4 separate regions of the Homo sapiens genome follow, and all the other regions are linked to region 4. The links are contacts of gene promoters, found by promoter capture Hi-C in blood cells and fetal thymus (Javierre and others, 2016). All regions are on one chromosome and are shown on one strand. The core of a region is centred on a gene start or on the middle of the fragment in contact, and the rest is flanking DNA. Distances in the headings are between cores, read along the strand shown. Region 1 holds the start of ALG5 (ALG5 dolichyl-phosphate beta-glucosyltransferase). Region 2 holds the start of SPART (spartin). Region 3 holds the start of SUPT20H (SPT20 homolog, SAGA complex component). Region 4 holds the start of TSC22D1 (TSC22 domain family member 1).

What was found. The method cuts DNA at HindIII sites, captures the fragments that hold promoters and counts their contacts. A CHiCAGO score of 5 or more calls a contact.
Region 1: the fragment with the promoter of ALG5 here is called in contact with the fragment with the promoter of TSC22D1 in region 4 in 2 of 17 cell types (total CD4 T cells and total CD8 T cells); the score reaches 5.5 in total CD4 T cells.
Region 2: the fragment with the promoter of SPART here is called in contact with the fragment with the promoter of TSC22D1 in region 4 in 2 of 17 cell types (naive B cells and activated CD4 T cells); the score reaches 10.5 in naive B cells.
Region 3: a contact is called between the fragment with the promoter of SUPT20H here and the fragment with the promoter of TSC22D1 in region 4, in 1 of 17 cell types (total CD8 T cells). The highest score is 5.2, in total CD8 T cells.

Annotation. Positions count from the first base shown.
Region 1 is chr13:36,997,134-37,000,589 of GRCh38, forward strand. ALG5 (ALG5 dolichyl-phosphate beta-glucosyltransferase) reads right to left here and starts at 2,207. Exons shown (of 10, transcript NM_013338.5): 1 at 2,102-2,207. The coding sequence starts at 2,167. RefSeq lists a silencer at 2,123-2,422 and enhancers at 2,883-2,932, 3,393-3,456. The HindIII fragment of the contact is 11,758 bases long and covers 1-3,456 here.
Region 2 is chr13:36,344,906-36,348,090 of GRCh38, forward strand. It overlaps SPART (spartin), which reads right to left and starts at 1,489. Exons shown (of 9, transcript NM_015087.5): 1 at 1,320-1,489. It overlaps SPART-AS1 (SPART antisense RNA 1), which reads left to right and starts at 1,526. Exons shown (of 5, transcript NR_045181.1): 1 at 1,526-1,602. RefSeq lists a silencer at 1,338-1,387. The HindIII fragment of the contact is 1,461 bases long and covers 1,076-2,536 here.
Region 3 is chr13:37,057,906-37,061,463 of GRCh38, forward strand. SUPT20H (SPT20 homolog, SAGA complex component) reads right to left here and starts at 1,783. Exons shown (of 26, transcript NM_001014286.3): 1 at 1,654-1,783. RefSeq lists a silencer at 1,695-1,954. The HindIII fragment of the contact is 8,647 bases long and covers 1-3,558 here.
Region 4 is chr13:44,574,492-44,577,996 of GRCh38, forward strand. TSC22D1 (TSC22 domain family member 1) reads right to left here and starts at 1,839. Exons shown (of 3, transcript NM_183422.4): 1 at 1-1,839. The coding sequence starts at 1,583. TSC22D1-AS1 (TSC22D1 antisense RNA 1) reads left to right here and starts at 1,405. Exons shown (of 3, transcript NR_038381.1): 1 at 1,405-1,779; 2 at 2,551-2,686. RefSeq lists an enhancer at 1,312-1,551 and silencers at 1,872-2,581, 2,592-2,831, 3,102-3,301, 3,482-3,505. The HindIII fragment of the contact is 6,017 bases long and covers 1-3,505 here.

The DNA.
Region 1 (3,456 bases), core at 957-3,456, 7.6 Mb before region 4:
AATCCAAATTGTGAGAAGTTCTACAGGACAAATGATCATATTAAAGACAAGGAAAAAGGCCGGGCGCGGTGGCTCATGTCTGTAATCCCAGAAGTTTGGGAGGCCGAGGAGGGTGGATCACCTGAGTTCAGGAGTTCGAGACCAGCCTGGCCAACATGGCGAAACCCCATCTCTATTAAAAGTACAAAAATTAACCGGGAGTGGTGGTAGGCGCCTGTAATCCCAGCTACTCAGGAGGCTGAGGCAGGAGAATTGCTTGAGGGCAGAGGTTGCAGTGAGCCAAGATCACACCACTGCACTCCAGCCTGGGTGACAAGAGCCAGACTCCGTCTCAAAAAAAAAAAAAAAAAAAAAAGACAAGGAAAAGAAAAAAAGGGGGAGGAGAAACTGTCAACTGATTAAGAGACTCAAGACATCAACAGAGTACAATGTGTGGCACTTGTTTGGATCCTGATTGGAACAAACAGACATATATACTGAGACATATATGAGACAAGTGAGGGCAAGTGAACTGAGGGGGCATTTGAAATCACAGAATAAATTTAAATCTGTGACCACTTTATTGTGGTATTTTAAAAAGAAGGACCTTATCTGTTAGAAATAAATGCTGAGGATTTAAAGATAAAATGTCTTCGAGTTGTTTTAAAATAATTCAGAAAGGAGGTGAGACTGTGAGTAATGGAGAGTGGATACATATGAAGACAGGATGAGGTTTTGAAAAATTATTTTTTTAATGATTTCTTGCTCTGGCATTTAAAAAACCTAAGTTTCACTAGTTGTGCAACATTTGAGTACACGAGCTCATTTCTCCAACATGTTTCCTCACCAGTAAAATAATGCTAATGATAACATATATGTCACAGTGTTAAAGATTTAATAACTCCTATTAAACCAAGTGCAACACAACATATAGTAAGTACTACAATCAATAAATGGTAGCTCTTATCACTTCAAGCTAGTGGGAACAAATACCGTCAGTACAATCCCATAAAATCTGTGCAAAAGACCCAAAGTAAGGCAGCTTCAATCTAAGAATGTGTGAATCCACTCCCCGCCCGCACCCCGCCAAAAATCAATCAATCAATCAATCAATCCTGGTTTGCTCAAAAACTTGAAAAAACAAAAAAGCCCTAAACCCTGAAATCTCTACTAGTTAGGGCAAGAGAGGACTCCTCTCTCACCCAGATACTATCAACAAAGAAGTAAGGATGCATTACATTTTATCTAAACTGTAAATTTATACAACCTCTGGAAAGATGGCAGAGTGGCCTTCCTGGCAGTGCTGTCTAGGTGGCTAATCTGAATGTCAAGGAAGCTGAAATCCTCTCCACTTACTAACTAGAGGGCAGGCTCATTCCAAGGTGTGCGGGAGAGAGTTCGCCAATTTTCTACCACTTAACAATCAGCAAGTGTTTACAATGTTTTTGTGTTTCGAGAGCAAGGGCAAAGACAATCGAGTTTGCATTCTATCGTCCTGCCTTGTTTAGGGGCAGTATATTTAGGGTGCTTAATTCTGGGACACAATGCGACCCCGGACAAGGCGCCTGAGGCCTGTCTCTCTCGCTCACCCTGCGTCCCTAGTGGGTCTCATCGATCCACGCATTTATTCCCATTTGTAACAGATGGCTGCCGTCAAGGCTCCGTCACCCCTATTTGCTTAACCACATCAGCCAAGGGAGCAGGCTAGGGAGCACACCCCTTCTGGGGGCTCGAGACCTCCCTGGGTGGAGCAGAACTGCAGCGGCTGCAGGTCCCGGAGAGTCTGGGAGAGGTCGAGGTTGACAGAGGAGGTGGGTAGGGGGCGCGGGCGCCAGGGGCGATGGAAGCGGCGATGATGCCAGGCCGGGTGGGTGCGCTCCAGTGTGAAAAAACTTACAAGTCTCTGAGCACACAAAGAGATAAGATTCCAAGGGAAAATTAAAGAACCGAAGAAAAGGAGAGTGAAACTCCAGGAAACTCCGAGGTCAGGAATTTGGGGGAATCTAGGGGAAAAGGGACTTCTCCGAGAACTGGTAGCGCGGAGGAGGGGACGCCTGAGGAGCCGCAGTCTCCAGGAGAGCGGTAAGCCCCGGCCTGCGCGGGTTCCCATCCCTGTTCTCACCAGTACGAGGGCTGCGGCCGCCAGCGCCGCGCCGAGCACCGCCAGCTGCAACAGAAGCGGAGCCATTCTCCATGCCGTGGCAGCCCGCCCAATCCCGCACCTCCACACAGGCGGAAGCGCGCCCGCGCGACCCGGCCCCGCCGCCAGAGAGGTCGCGCCCGCTGGCCGCAGCGCCCCCGCGTGGCGAGGCGGAGAAAACGCCGCTCTCGTGCCCTCGGCGCCCAGTCGGTGGAGAGGAGCGCTAGGTTCCACAGCGGGGCGCCAGGTTTATCAAGTATGCAAGACGTCTACTTAATTTGAATTTCAGATTAAAAAACTAATCATGTTTTTAACAGCCTTATTAAGATAGCCACATACCATACGACTCATCCAGTTACAGGTTTCTGGTTTATTACATTAGTTTTTATAAACTGTGGTAAAATAAAAAGTTGCCATTTTAATCATTTTAAGTTTACAATAGTGAGTGGCATTAATTACATACATACTGTGCAACCATCACCACTATCTATCTGTAAAGCCTTCCCAGCTCCCTCCAGGTTCTGGCAACAACTAATTGCATGCTCTATTTGGGGCATACTCATGCTTTAAAAAAAAAAAAACCCACAAAAAAACAAAAACAAAAAACAAAAAAACCACGCTGTGTTTATCAGACATTCAAATTTAACGTGGTATCCTGTATTTTATCTGGTAACCCCACCTAGGAGGGAGATGGCAGCCTTGAGCACGACACAGTCTACAACACAAGGTGATGCTTAGGAGCCCTCAGCTCCGGGACCTGCAGAGCAGAACGTGGTGCGGACAATGAGCGCACAGAAAGTTCAGGTTTCTCGGCCGAGCGCCGTGGCTCACGCCTGTAATCCCAGCACTTTGGGAGGACGAGGCGGGCGGATCACAAGGTCAGGAGATCGAGACCATCCTGGCTAACACGGTGAAACCCCGTCTGTACTAAAAATACAAAAAATTAGCGGGGCGCGGTGGCGGGCGTCTGTAGTTCCAGCTACTCGGGAGGCTGAGGCAGGAGAATGGCGTGAACCCGGGAGGCGGAGCTTGCAGTGAGCCGAGATCGCGCCACTGCACTCCAGCCTGGACGACAGAGCGAGACTCTGTCTCAAAAAAAAAAAAAAAAAAAGTTCAGGTTTCTCATGTGTTGGAGCACGGAGCCCTTGACCAGTGAAGAGGCAAGGCCAGGGCTGAGCCTAAGTCACAGGCAGAAAAAAGACGCAGAAACATTGGAATAACGCTCCACACGCACTGCTTGATTCTGCGCTAGAAACCCTGTTATCTCCGAACTGTTGGTGTTATTCTGAGTCACAGCACCAGCTCTTTTATAAAGAGGGAGACCCGCTCCTTCTTTA
Region 2 (3,185 bases), core at 239-2,738, 8.2 Mb before region 4:
TAACGTTCTAATAAAACACATTTATTTCAACATAACTACATGTATGTCTGTGTATGTCTTAAAAAATACCCGAGAAAAGGTAAAATTCTGCATTAAAATACCTAGCAATTTAGTTCGATTCCATAAACACTGAAAGAAGTAACACTCTCACTTAACAGTCAACATTACAAGCAGTCTTTAATAATACCGCATTTAACTCCTTAGAGCTAGCACAAGTTGATCTAATGCCTATTTGGCCCTTTACCAAAAAAGCGGAGGGGGCTTTGTCTAACACCTGTATACACCTCCCTCCGTAGCATCCCGCTCATTCTAGCTTCTTAGGGAAACCATAGACAACGACGTTTCAGAGAGTGCCAGAGGTGAAGCCGACCCGAAACCACATTACAGAAAGGCTTCCTGTTTCAAACAGGTCCAATAAAGCCACCAAATTAAGTCTACGATTATAAAGAACTGCGAATCAGAAAATAATTCCATATAGGTGCAGTCTTCTATTACTTTTTTCCCCACTTTCGGAAATTTCAAAGAAAAATTGCTACATTCTTAAATATGAGGCCATTATTTCAAAGGCTGTAACAACCTGGAACGCAAATTCGTTAAATTATGATACAATAAGGCCAACCTCGAGGATCCTCGGTGGACTACTAGCGCACTTCCTTACAATTAGAAAGTGAAAAACTGGGTCAGCCCTAGAGTCACGCAATAATGCTGCGTCACGAAACTGCGCATTCCAAGAGAAACTTTTCTCAGGCCCAGAATTAAGTCGGAGGGATCCGCCGCGCAGCTCAATCCCTAGGAAGCATGAAAGAATGTATTGTAAAGAGTAAAATCACGCGCAATCCATCCCAATATAACCGCAGTTGTTCGTGGGCCTTCTTGCAGAGAAAGGCTGCCCAACCTTGACGGGGCCATGGGCGCTGCGGGAGGGCAAAAGACCACAGAGATCTGCGAAGCCAAAGTAAACAACGGGGTTGGGGCGGCGAGAATGATCAATAGCGATGCTCCGAAAGGACTCCGCGATAGGAATCGAGCGGGAAGGATTCCCTCCATCCTAACAGTCCATGGGTTAAGAGGCCGAAGCTTCCCTAAATACCACACTCCCGCGAGAGAAGGGACTGAGAACAACTTCTCAAACTATTCTCTCTCGAAATCGCTCCCTTCCTCGAAAATTCCATCTCTGAGACTCGGATGAGGTCCCCACCCCCTCCACCCTTGTCCCGTGACCGTCGCCCGCTCAGCCTCCCAGCCGAGTCCGCGGGGCCTGGGGCGCCCACCCCGCCCACCCAAGGGACCGCGCAGGGGTGAACTCCCCCGCGCCCCACCTGCGCCTTCCAGACCTCGGGCGCCCCGGCGTTGCCTCGAGAGCTCCCTGCGCGGCCGCCGCGGCACGGACCAGCTCCCACTCCCTTACACTGGGCGCCGCTGCGCTCGCCGGGGGCCGGTCCCGAGGTTCCCAAGGCCTCGCGCGCGCGCTTGCCGTGGCAACCAAGACGTTCCACGACGCGCGCTCTCGAACGCTTCGCGTCACGCGGCCGCGCGGCCCCGCCCGTCGGCCTCGCTCCCGCCACAGAGCCCGCAGCACGCCGCCGCCGCAGCCTAGGTCACGTGAGTACCCACGCGCGCGTCTTGCCAGCGGATTCATCACCGGCCTGCTCAGACTAGGTTCTGCCCACTCTGACCTTCTAAATGGTACGTGGGAGGACGTCCGTCCCCTTCGGACCCAAGAGTCACCGTAACACTCTAGAAGGGGAGAAAAGGAGCGAGGGCGGCAGGCGACAGAGAACCTCGCGAGTCAGCGGCCCCGCGCAGACCCCCCCAGGCACGGTCCCCTGCGGCCACGTCGGCTGCTCGGCGCCTGCGCAATCTCTTTCTCTCCAGCGAAACCGAGGCCTCCGGAGAGCCTAGTAGAGAGTGTGGGCAGTGAGCGCTTGTAGCCGCTAGAGGGAGCGCTGGGCACAGTGCACGAGAGACAATAAAGGCTGATTATCCCCTCAATGTCTCTGCAGCCTGAGCTTTGTGACTTCTGTATCCAGAGCACAGTTAATTTCCAAAAGCCCGCCTGCACCACGTGTTTTAAGTCTTGGTGTGTGTGTAAAGTCTATATCACTATCATAAAACTGTTAGTTCCTGATTCCGGGATACAAAGAGTAAAATCAAGATGAACATACTTTACCCTTCTTGACAAGTGTTTTTAAATTAGTAAAATATTGTAGATGACAGACTCTTCAATAGGGCTGCCTTAGGGAAAAAAAAACAGAAAAAAGAAAAAGCAGTATGTACTTGCCCGGAGCATTTAGAACCAGTTTTGTTGTTGTTGTGTTTTTGTTTTGTTTTGAGACAGAGTCTTACTATGTTGCCCAGGCTGGAGTGCAGTGGCATGATCTCGGCTCACTGCAACCTCTGCTTCCCAGGTTCAAGCGACTCTCATGCCTCAGCCTCCAGAGAAGCTGGAATTACAGCTGTGCACCACCACTCCCGTCTAATTTTTGTATTTTTAGTAGAGACGGGGTTTCACCATATTGGCCAAGCTGGTCTTGAAAGCTTGACCTCAAGTTAGCCAGGCTGGTCTCGAATTCCTGACCTCAAGCGATCCACCTGCCTCAGTTTCCCAAAGTGCTGGGATTACAGGCGTGAGTCACCGCGCCTGGCCTTAGGACCAGTTAAGTGACTCCCTCAAATCTCAGAAAGGTAGCAGTCAGTCATCCCAAAAAGCAAAACCTATTAGGAATATATTAATACAGTGGTTTCAAAATGATTTTGCTCTTATACCCCCAAAGGAGTCCCCAAAGACTATGACTGTATTCTCACTTCCACGTTTTTGGATTGACCATCACAATTTCTCATCTGACTTAAATAGTTACAAAAGAAGCAACTTCTGTTTTATTATAAATTAACATTTTAAAATAAAAGTTATATAACTTTTAAATGTAGCCAGTGGAATCTAAATACCAATTTAATATCTAAAATCATCAATTTTTAAAACTACATGAACAAGCTTTTAACAGAAGGAAATTTTACATCATTTCTTTTCTTCTTGAACTCATATTTCCGTTCCATATTGTGAAATTGTATGTCAATATTTCTTTAGTCTTGCAAATATTGGCCAGGCTTGGTGGCTTATGCCTGTAGTCCCAGCTACTCCAGAGGCCGAGGCAAGAGAATCGCTTGAGCCCAGGAGTTCGAGACCA
Region 3 (3,558 bases), core at 533-3,032, 7.5 Mb before region 4:
GGAGGCTGCAGTGAGCGAAGATCGCGCCACTGCACTGCAGCCTGGACGACATAGAGAGACTCCGTCTCAAAAAAAAAAAAAAAAAAAAGTTGGCTGGGGCGGTGGCTCAGGCCTGTAAGAGGCAGAAGCGGGTGGGTCACTTGAGGTCAGGAATTCGAGACCAGCCTGACCAACAATGGTGAAACCCAGTCTCTACTAAAAAAATTAAAAATTAGCCGGGTGTGTTGGCACACACCTGTAATCCCAGCTACTCCGGAGGCTGAGGCAGGAGAATGGCTTGAACTGGGAGGCAGAGGTTGCAGTGAGCCAGGATCGCCCCATTGCACTCCAGCCTGGACAACAAGAGTGAAACTCCGTCTGAAACTTTAAAAAATGGACTAACCTCCTAATACAACACAAACACAAGCACCATACAACTGTAAATGATTTACGATCATTTACAATGAGTAAGATATTACTCCTACCCTTGAAAAGCTCGTAGGAGGTTTAAGTTGAATTTAGGTGAACGTGAAAATTTTCTGACCACTGAATTTGAAGATGAAGATACACTATGTACTTTTCGGACAAAATGTGATGACTTTAAGATTTCTTGTCACTAAATTGGGGATGGGGGCTTACTAACTTTAAATTATTTAAGTACTTCAGACAAAAACTAATAACTTCATATCTCTCACAAAGCAAACATTCTGTCTATACACAGAATTTACTAGAACCTGTGAGGAAACTGTAATCATTATCATTTCCGTTTTACAGAATAAGGCAATCAGAACAACTGACTTTCCTAACATCACAGACCTAGATCAGAATTCAGAACTCTGTGTCCAATCTTAGGTCCCTTCCAATATTACAACCTGCAAACTAATCAAACCGGCATCTGTTTTTACATTTCTTTAAAAAAAGCAAAGCAATTAAAAAAAGGACCCAATTCTGCTCAGAGACGAATATGTATTTCTTAATTTGGATCTAACTTTATAACATGGTGATCAACCCAAGTACACTGTACTCGACTCCGAAAATCCTGCTCGTCACTTTATATTTTGAGTCCTACTAGAGACTTTGATGAATTGCACTCAAGAAGACGCGGCCCCCACTACGCAGTGGCTACGGGAGATGGCTTCCAGGGCAACTGTTCTCCAAGTTCATTTCTGAGCGCCGGGTAACCATGGCCAGTAATTAATCCAATTCTAAGCGTTGCTATCAATTCTACGCGTTGCTATCAATTCTACTGATTTCCCTGATCGACCAGAGTCTTCCCATTGCAGGAGCTTTTGTCACAACTTAGGCTTTACCTGTACAACCGTCATCTCCACAGAGGAGCGACAAGCCTTTATGCAATATGGACACCAAGAAAACCGCCTTCGAAGACACGCAAGGCAAAATTCTTGCCAGTGTCCGGAAATACCCGTCTCTGGAACCCAAAAGTCAAACTAAAATTAAAAGTTCGGCTTAGCAACACCGCGAAAGGCGATGTAGGCGTCCACCTGGAGTTTAGCTGCCTCAACCTCCGCCCCGGCCTGCCGGGTCTCTGGGGACCCCGTCTTCCTCCAGCGGGCTCTGGGATGCGGCCCGCTCACCTCTGACCCTGGCCGGATCTCGCGCGTCTAAGCCACCGCGTTGCCAGTCGCTGGCCACCCACCTACCGCCACCGCCCACCTGTGCGGGTCGCCTCGCCGCTAGGCCCCAAGACGGCGCCGCCTGCTCGGCAGCAAAGCCCACCCGCCCCGTCGGCGGCTCAGTGCTGCACCCCCACCAACAGCCAGTTCCGGCGGCCGCACTTCCGATTGGCAGGCTGGGCCGAGGGGCGGGGAAGGCGGGCGGAAGGGGAGGAGCCGGGAGGGCGGGGCCGCTGCCAGGAGCCTGGAGCGCTGCGTTCCGCGCAGGACGCCGGTGAGGCCCGCAGAGACTTGCGTCCGGGCGGGAGGCGGGGCCCAGGATCTCTGCTCAATCCTGGAGTCCGAGTCCGCAAAGTGGGAGGGAGGGTGTAGATGTGAATTTGGGGAAAAACGACCCTGTTGAATTTCTAGAGTGGAAGAAACATAGAACTAGCTTTTCTCTTTGCTTAGCACATACAAATGGAAAAACAGCGACACCGTTACCTACATTTACTAGTCCAATGCGTACAACCTTCTGTAGTATATCAACTGCCAATGAGTTTATGTTTTTAAAAAAACCACCCCAGAGAAGGGTTCTAAAAATTCAGAAACCGCATTACTAGCACACATTGTAAGGTCTGTTTTGTTTTGTTTGTTCGTTTGTTTTTCAGACAGAGTCTCGCTCTGTCGCCCAGGCTGGAGTGGAGTGGAGAAATCTCAGCTAACTGCAACCTTTGCCTCCTGGGTTCAAGCGATTCTCCCTGCCTCAGTCTCCGGAGTAGCTGGGATTATAGGCGTGCACCACCACACCCGGCTAATTTTTGTATTTTTAGTAGAGACTGTTTCACTATGTTGGGCAGGCTGCTCTTGAACTCCTCATCTCAAGTGATCCACCCGCCTTGGCCTCCCAAAGTGCTGGGATTACAGGCGTGAGCCATCATGCACGGCCTGGGGTGAATCTTTTTAATGAGCATTTATTATTTGCCGTTCACAATGCCAAGGGTCATAATGAATGAAAGTGTCTTGGAATTAGAGTTAGTGGTTGCACACATTATAAGTGTATTAAAGTACACTCCAAAATAAAATCCGAACACATTAAGTGGTTACTCCCATTCCTCCCTCTCTCAGCCCCTGGCAAATGCCAATCAGCTTTCAAACTGTGGTACCTATTACGGATATTTCATATAAATGGAATGTGTGACCTTTTGGTCTGTCTTCGTAGCATAATCTTTTGCAGGTTCACCTTGTACACCTTGTTGCATGTATCGGTACTTCATGTCTCTTTATGGCTACTATTCCACTGTACCTAGATGCCACAGTTTTACCTGTCCATCCACTGATGGACATTTGGGTTGTTTCCACTTTCGGGCTATTGTGAATAGCAATGATATGAACATTTGTATACAAGTATTTGTTCGAGTCCCTGTTTTCAATTCTTTTGGGTATAAACATAGTGGAACTTCTGGGTCTTATAGTAATTCTACGTGAAAATATTTGAGGAACCCATAAACAAATGTTTCTACAGCAGCTGAACCATTCATTTTACATACCAAGAGCATTGTCGGGGGATTCCAATTTCTCCACATCCTCACTAACACCATAATTTTCTATTCCTTTGATAGTAACCATCCCAAAGGGTATAAAGTGGTATTTTATTGTGGGTTTGATTTGCATTCCCTAATGGCTAGTTATCTTGAGCATCTTTTCATGCCCTTGTTAGCCATTTGTATATCTTCTTTGGAGAACTCTCTATTCAGGTATTTCCCCATTTTTAAATTGAGTTGTTTGTGTTTTTGTTGTTAGTTATGTGTAGTCATATATTCTGGATATTAGACCCTTATGAGATATATCATTGGTGGATACTTTCTCCCATTCTGTAGGTTGTCTTTTCACTTTCTTTGTAATATCCTTCAGTGTACAAACCTTTTTAATTTTGATGAAATCTAATTTATCTATTTTGTTACTT
Region 4 (3,505 bases), core at 589-3,088:
TGTGGACCAGTGCTACCAAAATCCATCTGTTGGAGGGTCACACCTTGGAGAGCTGGTTGTTGCTGTTGTTGTTGTTGTTGCTGCTGCTGCTGCTGCACCACCACAGTAGGGGCTCCCATCTCTCCACTTCCCACACTCTCTGTATAGTGACTCAGTGTGCTGACACTACTGCTCACTGAACTCCCACTAGTGCTCTCCCTTTCAGAAGTCACTTCTATCGGATTTTGCTTTACAGTCTCCACCACTTTATTTATCAGCACACCTTCTGTAGCAGGTACAGCATTTTCTTTTTCATAGAACTCAGTGCAAGTCCATCTACCTTTTTTAAAGGGCTCAGAACTAGAATCTAACTTCACAACTCTGAACCTCGAAGTGTTAACTGTTGGTTGTTGCTGCTGACTTGAAACCGATCCCCCAGTCATCCCTGCAGCTGCATTAGGAACACTGCTAACAGCAGCAGAGGAAGAAATAGTACCATTGCCCATGCCACTCAAGATATTCACATTAACACCACTGGTAACTCCAGGCCCAACACTCACACCAGCAGCACTAGGAATATTGCTTGTACTTATATTAACATTACCAAGCATGCTGCTTGTCACATTAGGATTAAAACTACCCACAGCAGTAATGTTAACATTATTTACTGTACTAGTGCCAGTAACAGAATTTATACCTATTCCACCTGTAGTACTTGGAGCACGCATATTAGTCATTACAGATGCAGGTGAACCACTGGATGATACAGCAGAAGTTGGTGCAACTGGTGTGATACTGTCAGAGCTTCCAGTTGTAGAGAGTTTTCTAGATACTGGGCTTGAGGGTGGCCCACCAGTAATGGATGCACTGGCCACAGCAACATGAGATGGATGGTGGTGACCATGTTGGAGGTGGTGCCCATGATGAATCTGATGGTGGTGATGGAGGTGGTGTGGATGAGCATTCCCATTGATCACAACATTCTGTTGTGGAAGGTGAGGCAAATGAGGCTGAGGAAGGTGGGGCTGGTTGGGAGAGACTGCCCCAGGTGTCTCGGCTTCCTGGAAGTTATTTAGGGTCTCTTCTGAGGAGCTGCGTTCGGGCTCCCCTAAGTCAGTAGCCCTGGAAAGTGACACATCAAGGATCTCCGAAGAAGAGAGATCTTCCGTGTGAGATTCATCCAGATCATCATAGCTCTCAGTGTCCTCTGCTATACTGTTGTTAGAGCTGATACTAGCGGAGATCTGAGCAGGAGTAACGCTAGTTATCTGGAAGCCACTTTTCTTTTTCATTTGAGTTCCGCCTGGCGCAAGAGGCTGTGCCTGCAGCTGAGCCTGCGAAAGGAGGTTCAGGCTTTGTGGAGGCGGAGGCTGTGGTCCCGACGTAGAAGATGCTGCAGGGGGCGGCGGCTGAAGCAGCGACGGAGGCGGAAAATCCTCGGAAGATGTGGCATTACTACCGACGCCGGTACCTGCTGCATTGAGAGCAGAGGCGCTGCCACTACCGCTGCCCCTTCGAGGGAACATTGCCGGGTGCGCCATCTTCCTAGCGCTAATGTCTGCAGCGGCGGCGGCCGCGGCGGTGGACTCAGGCGGCTGGTGCATTGTGTTGGGTACCGGGGGCGCGGAGGAGACGAGTGCAATTTCCTTCTGCACCGTAATCTTTGTATTGGAGACGCCGGAGAGGAAAACGGGACCTGACGCTCCGCCTGGCGCGATTCCTCCTTCTCCTCCTCCTCAGCCAAAGGCGCCGGTCGCTCCTGCCTTCGAGAGCGAGCTTCGGAAAGGAGGATGAACGAGGGTGAACAGGGCGGCCGGGGACCCGAAGGGGGGATCCCTTCAGTCCTTCGCCATTCACTTTCCCCTCTAGCCTCACACCCCCCTTTATATTCTGCTTCACGTGGGGTGCGGGGCAGGAGGGAGGGGGAGAGCGCAGGAAGGGGAGGAAAAGCGAGAAATGCCCACCTTCTCCGGCCAACTCCGAAGCCGCCTCAGCCCCCTCCTCCCGCCGCGTCGGCGGCCGCTGCAAAGCCCTCCCGGCCGCTCTGCACGGAGGCAGCGCCAAGCAAATGTCGCCTTCCCCTCGCCACCCCCGGGGCCGCCGCCGCCGCCAGCGAGCCCCGAGCTCAGTGTCGCTCAAACCTCCCCTCCCGGCCCCGCTCGGCCCTCCCCCCGCGCCCCGCAGACCCTTTCAAACCCCCTGGGCTCGCGGCGGCTGCTCGGTGAGGAAACGCTGGCCGCGGCTGGGGCCGGGGCGACGCGGCTGCGAGCGGGGCGGCGGCGAGGCGCCCGGTACGGTGAGCCCAGCAACGAGGCGCGGGCGGGCGCGCAGAGACGCCGGGTCCTCGCGGAGCACGGCCGGGGCGCGGCGGCGGCGGTGGCAGCGGGAGCCCAGGGACCGCTCCATCACTGGCAGCCATGGAGCCCGAGCATTTTCCTCCCTCAGGGCAGGCGCCTCGACTCGGCACACGTCCTCGGGGAGGAAGGGGCCGGCACCCGAGCCTCTCCGGAGGGCGGCGGGACGTGCGCTAGGGCGGAGGGTGCGACCCTCTCTTATCCTCTTCCTCCGCAGCCGGCTCTTCCTCACCCCGCTGCTCCCGCGACCGGGCGGGAGAGGGCCGCAGGCGGCGGCGGCTCCTTTCTCCGCGGCGTTGGTGGCCAGACGGGCTGGTGCAGCGACTGCAGCCGACGCCGTTCAAAGGAACGAGGTGGGGTTGGTCGGTGTCGGCAAACGGGGCGGGGGAGTGAGTGGGTGCCGAGGGAGGGTGTCGGGCGGGGAGGGGGCTGTGGTGGTTGTTACTAGTGCTCTTCTTCGGCTCCCCCGGCTCCACCGTATCCCCCAGTCTCTCGCGGCATCGGGAGGGGAGGGACCAGCGCGGAGCGCAGGAGGAGGAGGGGCGACCGCCGGCGAGAGGAGGCGGTGGTGGCTGGGGGGAGGGGGCAGGCGGAGGAGGAGGAGGGAAGATGGCGTCTGCGCATGCGCCTCGGCGCCGCAGACATAAAGCCGGGTCTGGCGGGGCAGGAGGCGGCGGGTCTTCGGGCCTAGGCGAGCGCCAGGTCTCCCGACGGAAATTACCGAAGGCTGGCAGAGGCGCCGAAGCCGGGAGTGGTGGAGCCGGAGGGGATAGTGGGGGTGGGGAATTCCGGCCGAAGGAGCGAATCCGGGTCGGACTGCGTGATTCGGCCCGGTGGGGGCGGGCAGGGTGCGCGCCTGCCGCGCGCCCAGGTTAGGTGTGTCCGCTCTTTTCACACTCGCGGCCGGCGCGCGCGGGCACGCGGCAGAGGAGGGGGCGCGGCGCGGAAGGGCCGGCGGAGGCGGCGGGAGCGCCGGCGCTTGGTGTGCGCGCCTTGGGTGGTGTCCCCCGCCTGCGGAATGGGTAATGAGGCTTTTCTCCGCAGCAACAGCATCACGAGTTTCAGTTCCCAGGAGCCCGCCGCCGCGGCTGCTGCCGCTGCCACGACATGAGTCAGGCTTTCTTCCCTGGCGCGTGGCGGAAACCTCCTCCCCCTCGCCGCACCTGGGCTCG